Linked DNA regions of Homo sapiens: region 2 is linked to region 1. Evidence: promoter capture Hi-C in 16 types of primary human blood cells and fetal thymus (Javierre and others, 2016). All regions are on one chromosome and are shown on one strand. Each heading gives the region's core, a stretch centred on a gene start or on the middle of the fragment in contact. The rest is flanking DNA. Distances are from core to core; before and after follow the strand shown. Region 1 holds the start of PNO1 (partner of NOB1 homolog). Region 2 holds the start of RAB1A (RAB1A, member RAS oncogene family).

Region 1 (3,589 bases), core at 578-3,077:
CACAGCACTCCGGGCTGGGTGACAGATTGAGACCCTGTCTCAAAAAAAAAAAAAAAAAAAAAAAAGCCACTGGTTACCAGAAGCTAAGTGATGAACAATACAAGGAACGAAGGAAAGGTAGAAAAAAATAAGCCATGTTTCATGTTTGTCATTCAGGGAAACTTAAAGCGGGATGGGGTCTTACATACTTTCTATTCTAGGCTTAACAGTCCAAATTGTATTCATCCTTTATCTACCAGTTTAATCCCTACCTCCTCCAAGCAGATTCTCTCCATAGGTTTTGATCCCCAGAGTTAACCTACCCTGCACTTGTAGTCTATTACAACCCTGATCTGATAATGACTGATCATTTTTTCAGGTAACAAAATCAACACTTTTTAAAAACTATAAACAGCTATAAAATGCTAGTTACTATCATTATTCTCTAATTCTTTCACTAGTAATCTTCAAAAAAACCTTGCAAACCTAATCTTTCCACACCCTGCTTAAATCCTTTCAGTTGTGTCCGTTTTTTCTTAGAAAAAAGGCATAAATCCTTTGAATGTCCTACAGATCTTGCAATGTCTGGTTCCTGCTTATCCCTCTAGTTTCTTAAGGAGATAAACTTCTTCCCATCACTGAGCTTCTGCATGTGCAGAAGCCCTGGAAACCTTGTCCTTTACTCCTAGTTTGACCTAGTTAGCTTCTGCACATACCAAAATCTGTTTTCATTCATCCCAAATCTGTTTTCACTCTCATTGAACCGTAACCGTGTTCCTTTGTGTGAGACAACTCATCTCGGTTTGTATTTATGTATCGTTGCTTTGATTATTGAACTGAGTATCTCTCCCACTAGAAAATAAACTCCATGAGATGGGGGACATTACCATTCACATCCCTGGGAATACCAGGCACTCAGCTGATGCCTGTCGAATGTGTTAGGTTGCCTCTTCCAACCACACTGCAGGCATCCTGGTGCCCGCTTTGGCTGGACTGCACTGGGGGTGGCAGGACGGTTGGGCGCGGAGGAACTACCCCGCGGATGAGAAGAAAGGTTTTAAATAGGAAACATTCCTCAGTCGGCGGTCAGCTTCTCTGGTCTCGCGCGGCTCAAGCCATGCTTTGGGGGACGCTGGGCGAAGGCTCTGGCAAAGAGGAATGCAGACCCCAGGATCCGCACTCGCCCCCAACGGCAGTCCGGATCCTCGACCCGGCACCCACCTCCCGAAGCAGCTTCAGGTCCCCGTGCTGGATCTCGTACAGCTGAATGACGCCGGTGCCCCGTGCGAAGTTGCCCATGGTCACAAATTTGGCGCTGCAGGGCACCCACTTACAGTCAAACACCGTGTAGTTGAAGCCCTTCTGGATATGGGCGATGATCTGAGGCTTCTCGAAGGCCGACATGGTGCAGCCAATTTCAGCTACGGCAACCGCCACACCCAGAGCCCCCAAAAACGGCAACCTGGAAACCAGACTCCAAACATTGGCAATTTGTCCCTCCCGCTTTCCGTATTCTGCCCCAGATGCCCTGGCATGTTGGCTGTAGTTATCCCCGGATAATGCCAGATGCGCTCCTGCGATCGCACAGAATGTTCCTTCACAACAGCACGAATTTGTTTATCGCCTTTACCCACTGCCTTTCGCACACATACATACTAGAGATTACAAAATACTTGGGCTGGGAGTTGCGCGGCTGGAGTGAGCCCAAGACCATCAGGCATATCTTAGGACAGCCTAACCCCGTTTTCCCCCCCACCGGCCCCAAATCCTGCAGGTCCCCGGCCTGTGACGTTTTAGGAAAGGGGCGGAGCTGCAGGGGTGGTTGGCTGAGGCTGGCTTCTGCGTGGTGCAGCTGCGCACGTGTTTCAGCCGGCAGCGCTTTAAGATTTCCGGGGATGGAATCCGAAATGGAAACGCAGAGCGCCAGGGCAGAGGAGGGCTTTACCCAGGTCACCCGCAAGGGTGGCCGACGGGCGAAGAAACGACAGGCTGAACAGCTGTCCGCAGCAGGAGAGGGCGGGGATGCGGGCCGCATGGACACAGAGGAGGCCAGGCCGGCGAAGAGGCCCGTCTTCCCACCCCTCTGTGGGGACGGGCTCCTGGTATGTGGCTGGGACCCTAGGACAGCAACGAGGCAAGGGCCAGACGCGGATCAAGCCGATGGCCTCTGGAGAATGTTGAAGCTGCGGTGGGGCTGTTCTGCCGTGATGCTCAGAGAGAAGTGATTCTTTGAAGTGTAACTAGTTCAGTTAAAGGAGGCCCTTTGTGGATCAGATGTCATTTTAAACTCCATCACCGTCCCTCCATAGCCTTCTGAGTTGTGTGTTCTTTTATTTACAGAGTGGGAAAGAAGAAACAAGGAAAATTCCAGTCCCAGCTAACAGATACACACCATTGAAAGAAAACTGGATGAAGATATTTACTCCTATTGTGGAACATTTGGGACTTCAGATACGCTTTAACTTGAAATCAAGGAATGTAGAAATCAGGGTAAGGAAAATCTCAATCATTTCCCAATACACCAGGCTTTCTCTCCTACAGAGATGAAAAGGCATGAATAGGCTTTACTTAATGGGACTTTTCTGTTGTATGGTTTTTGTCCAGTTTAAAAATTTACCATATTGAGTTTGAACTTCCCAAATGCCTTAAAAATCTGCATTCGATACAAATATTAATTGAATTTGTAAATTAGTTCTGAGATCACACCAAAATACTGGCTCTTCTTCTGTGTATCTTTTATAATGTTCTATGTCAAATTGAGAAAAGGTCGAGTAAAGAGATTGCCATAAACAGAAGCAGGTAAATAATGAATATAAGCACTTGCTGCTTTACAAGAAGTATATACAGTCAGCGTCGGGAATATGTTCTGGGATATGTTTTGTCAGATGACTTAGTCCTTGTGCGAATATTATAGAGTGTACTTACACAAACCTAGATGGTATGTGTATATTTGTTTATATATTTTTTTCATATGGAAAACCAAATGTCCCAGCACCATTACTGAATATCAGTCATTTCATCTACTTGATCTGCATTGCCGGTATCCAGTGCCATATATCAGGTTTCTGTATATTCTCCATTATACTGTTATGAGACCACCATGGTATGAGCGGTTGGTCACTGATCAAAATGTCATTATGCAGTGCATGACTGTGTTTTAATGGTGCTCTTTTGATTAAAAAATGTATTATTTTGATAAGAAACATGCATATATATGTGTGTGTGTGTGTGTGTGTGTGTATATATATCTTTTTATTTTGCTCTTTCACCCAGGCTGGAGTGAGTGGCATGATCTTGGCTCACTGTTAACAGGTGCCTGCCACCAAACCTGGCTAATTTTTGTATTTTTAGTAGAGACTGGGTTTTAGCATGTTGGCCAGGCTAGTCTCGAACTCCTGACCTCAGGTGATCACATCTCGGCCTCCCAAAGTGCTGGGATTACAGGCGTGAGCTGCCCCACCGAGCCTATGTATATATTTTAAATTCTGTGCTATCAATCCGGGAATTAGACATTTAAATTTACTTTGGGCTTTCTTTTCTGGGTGCCAATTTCATACCAGAATCGATAACCGAAATTAATTATATTTTCCTTTTTAAGGATTCTTTTACC
Region 2 (3,589 bases), core at 612-3,111, 3.0 Mb before region 1:
AACTTGTCAAAGTTCTCAACTAATCTTGAAGATTTATTTACACTAATAAACATATATATAGCAAATTCAGAAAATTTCCTGAACAGTAGAGGTCTATAAACCTCGATAAAGCAGTAAATCCATGTTCTTTATTGTTACCAAGAAAACTACTAAATTAAGAACCTCAAGTTCACCTCCGTTCAACTGTGCAAAACCAACTTTGTCCTTGGAGCCCTTGAAAAAAAATTTTTTTTAAACTGTCAACACAGCAAATGTCACTACAAGAACACTACCCTCAACTTCTAAAACATGAAATTCTAATAAAATACTACGGTTTCTGTTTAGTGCAAAAGATTTCAGCTTCAAGCCACACTATTACAAAACTTGTAAGCATTTTGCAAGAGCCATGTGACACACATATGACAGTCAGCTAAACTGGTGGGTGGACCTTTTAGGGGAAAATGTCTAGCAGTAATTGACCAAACCAGCAAATAAACTCAACTTTTACAACAAATACTGATGTTCCCCCATCCCTCAAAGGCCTTTGACACTGAAAAGGAATACCAATTCGGTCTCTTCCAATTATTCATTACTTTACATGCATGTAAACTGTAGAGGAAATTTTTAAAGGGCCATTGAGGAGAGCCCAACAAACTCTACCCAAGGGAAGTGAACACCAGTTCCCAGGAAAGGTGCCAGGTGTGTCACATCTGCTGTGGTGACTTCTTGAGTAAGCAAGAAAAAGAAATGCATTAACTTTTCATGACACGTCATGGAACCTCATTCCCTATCTGCAAGCATCCAAGCAGGTAATCCAAAACCTACATACAGATCTATCATAGGTCCCGTTCGTTTCTCTTTCAACTTGACAGCAAGCTTCCTTTAATCTGCGAGTATCAAAAAGACATTTCTTGGCTTTAGTTTTTTTTTTTTCCCTTGACCCACAGAAGACAAAATGACTTAGGTGTCCTCTTTAAAAAAAAAAAAAACAAAATTCTCACAAATGCCCAGGTTTTTATAGGAGGGCAATGGACCCGGCGAGCTCTTAAACAACTCCTCCAAGACACAACTCAAAAAGAGAACTAATAAATGTTCAGTTGCTTCTCACCATCTACTCATTCCCCTCAATCCCACGCAGTCCCGAAAAGCATCCATATTACCTGAAACCTGGCGGGGAGGATGGAAGGAGAGAGAGCCAACAAGCTCAGGATTTACAAGTAAAGCTGGTTTCTACCCCGAAGATCCTGACAGCTCCGCAGAGTGCGGGCGCAGGGTCTGACAGTGCCCTCTAGAAGGGCTCTCCCACCCCATCCCCTCCCCTTAGAGACAAGTCCTCCTTCAAAAGTCACTGCCTCCGAGAGAAGATACCCCTTCACACCGCCCCAGGCCCCTCGGCAGGCTTCCTCAGCACCCGCCCCGCAGTCAGGCCCTCTAACCTGACCCGGTCCAGGCCCGGGCGGCTCACCCCTCCGGCCCGACCCCTCCCCCGCGCGGCCGCCCCTCCGCGTCAGACAATGGGGCCCGACTCCCGGCCGCCAGCCTCTCCTGACCCATCACCCTCGCCTCACCCCAGCCGATGCCCCGACTTCTGCCCCAACCCTCCTCGACCCCTTTAAGATCCCCCAAGCTGGCCCACGGACCCAGCCGACCGGTGCTCTCCTGAACTCACTATTCGGGATTCATGCTGGACATGTCACTGCAGCTGCCGCCGCCGCCACCGCCGCCCTTGCTGCCGCAGCCGCCGCCCTGACTCTCCGCGCCACGGGTAATCGAAAGAAAGGAATGAGATAGGCTGTTCCGGGAGAGCAAACGTCTTCCCCTACTCCGTCCCCTAGAACACAATCAGCAGCCGCCGCCACTCAGCTATCGCTTCCACCCAAAATGGCCGCCGGCGAACCAGGAAATAGGGAAGCCTTAGACCGAGGGGCCTTTACACGGCCCAGAGGGCGGCCGCACCGCCTGGCATGCCGGGAAAGGGAGTCGCGAGCGCGGCTACGCGAGCTGAGGACAGACAGTGCGACGCAAGGCCAGGACTCAGCTTCCCGCCAAGCGCCGCGCCTCTGGGGCATGCGTACCTGAAGGGTTGTCGCCCGCCCCATTCCCCACTCCCTCACCTCCCCACCCTCGGCCCCTCCCTGCTCCCCTCCCCTCTGACTCGCTGGCTAGGACTTCGCTCGGACTCCCCCTGGCGGATTGGCTAAGGCCGAGCTGCCCTAGTGATGTCATCAGTGAGACGTGGCAGCCGGGCGAGTCAGCGCCCCACGGGGGAGGGGGCGGAGAGGGGCGGAGGGTGGTGCCGGCGGCCGACGGAGGCTGGGGGTCGGGGGAGGCAAGGGACCGGGGGGAGTGGTCAAACCGGAGGGACTGCCGGGGGTGCGGGGGCGGGGAGGGGGCCGGGGTACGAGCGTGTCGGCTCCTGCCTCCGTTGCGGCTGTTGCTGACCTGACCAGCTTGAGGCTTGCGCCACCCTGGTGGCGCTGGTTGGGGGCTGGTAGGAGGACGTCCGCTCTAAGAACAGAAGGGAAGTCAAGGGGCTCCCTGGACGGCACGGAGCGGTTCTTCTCGTCACTCACCCATCCCCACCTGGGTTCGGTCATCGTCCATTGTTGGCCCCGCGCACTACCATTTTCTTCTTAGATTTCTTCCCATTCTTACTGTGCCCCGCTCTTAACTCGTCAGCCTGGCTATTGCAGTAGTCTCCAAATGGACTCTACCTCTCTCTCTCCTCTCCGCCCCAGCCCATTTGCACACACAGTCGGATGTATCTTTCTGAGACAGCACCTGCATCGTGACCCCACAACCTTCAATGGCTCCACATCCCATGGATGGGAGGGACACAGCCCAGAGCCAGCCTAAAATCCAATTCCTACCTTCGTCCCGGCCTTCAGGTTGAATTGTAATGTATTATCTTTTAGTTGCTACTAACCCTGAGCCATTCTGCAAGACTGGAAAATAATAAGCAATAAAAATAGGCAATTCATCACTATATAGTGCCTACAATTTCTGGGAGTAATATTAACTCATTTTTAAAAAACCTATGGCCTTAACAGCTCTCTTTAATCAGCTCAGGAATTTAAATCTCCGCTAAACTTTAACACATTATCTTGAGTTATTTAATTACAAAGGGCATAGTGTAATACATTGTCCAAAGTTTATCTTCCAACTTCTAAGAACTAAGAAAATTGTCTCCTGAGACTTACTGCAGAATCACTTTAAATTCCTACAACGCCAAAATATAGAAAGAAGGCACTTATTTCTACCCATACACTAATTACACCCCTTAGCCCTCAAATTCTGCCATGGGCCTTAGTTGATGAACTTATCAAAAGTTACCCGAGTTTGGTTTCTGAAATGAACATGTTGGTTTCTGAAATGAACACGGTCACCACCCCAGGAATACCCTGAATGGTTCAGTAATAGGCACCAAAAAGTGTTCGTTACCCTGGACTCTAAAGCCCATTAAAAAAAAAAAAAGCTTATTTTGATTTCAAATAAAAACTCAGAAAACTGGCCAGGCTCGGTGGCTCATGCCTGTAATCTCAGGAATTTGAGAGGCCAAAACGGACAGATCACGAGGTCAGGAATTCAAGACCAGCCTGGCCAACATGGT

The links. The method cuts DNA at HindIII sites, captures the fragments that hold promoters and counts their contacts. A CHiCAGO score of 5 or more calls a contact.
Region 2: the fragment with the promoter of RAB1A here is called in contact with the fragment with the promoter of PNO1 in region 1 in 1 of 17 cell types (M0 macrophages); the score reaches 7.0 in M0 macrophages.

Annotation. Positions count from the first base shown.
Region 1 is chr2:68,156,061-68,159,649 of GRCh38, forward strand. PNO1 (partner of NOB1 homolog) reads left to right here and starts at 1,828. Exons shown (of 7, transcript NM_020143.4): 1 at 1,828-2,081; 2 at 2,320-2,469. The coding sequence starts at 1,875. It overlaps DNAAF10 (dynein axonemal assembly factor 10), which reads right to left and starts at 1,467. Exons shown (of 8, transcript NM_138458.4): 1 at 1,201-1,467. The coding sequence starts at 1,383. RefSeq lists enhancers at 710-1,642, 1,100-1,239, 1,520-1,759, 2,040-2,139. The HindIII fragment of the contact is 6,016 bases long and covers 1-3,589 here.
Region 2 is chr2:65,128,245-65,131,833 of GRCh38, forward strand. RAB1A (RAB1A, member RAS oncogene family) reads right to left here and starts at 1,862. Exons shown (of 6, transcript NM_004161.5): 1 at 1,649-1,862. The coding sequence starts at 1,671. RefSeq lists enhancers at 1,130-1,644, 1,641-1,900, 1,645-2,158 and silencers at 1,461-1,510, 2,011-2,360. The HindIII fragment of the contact is 2,599 bases long and covers 854-3,452 here.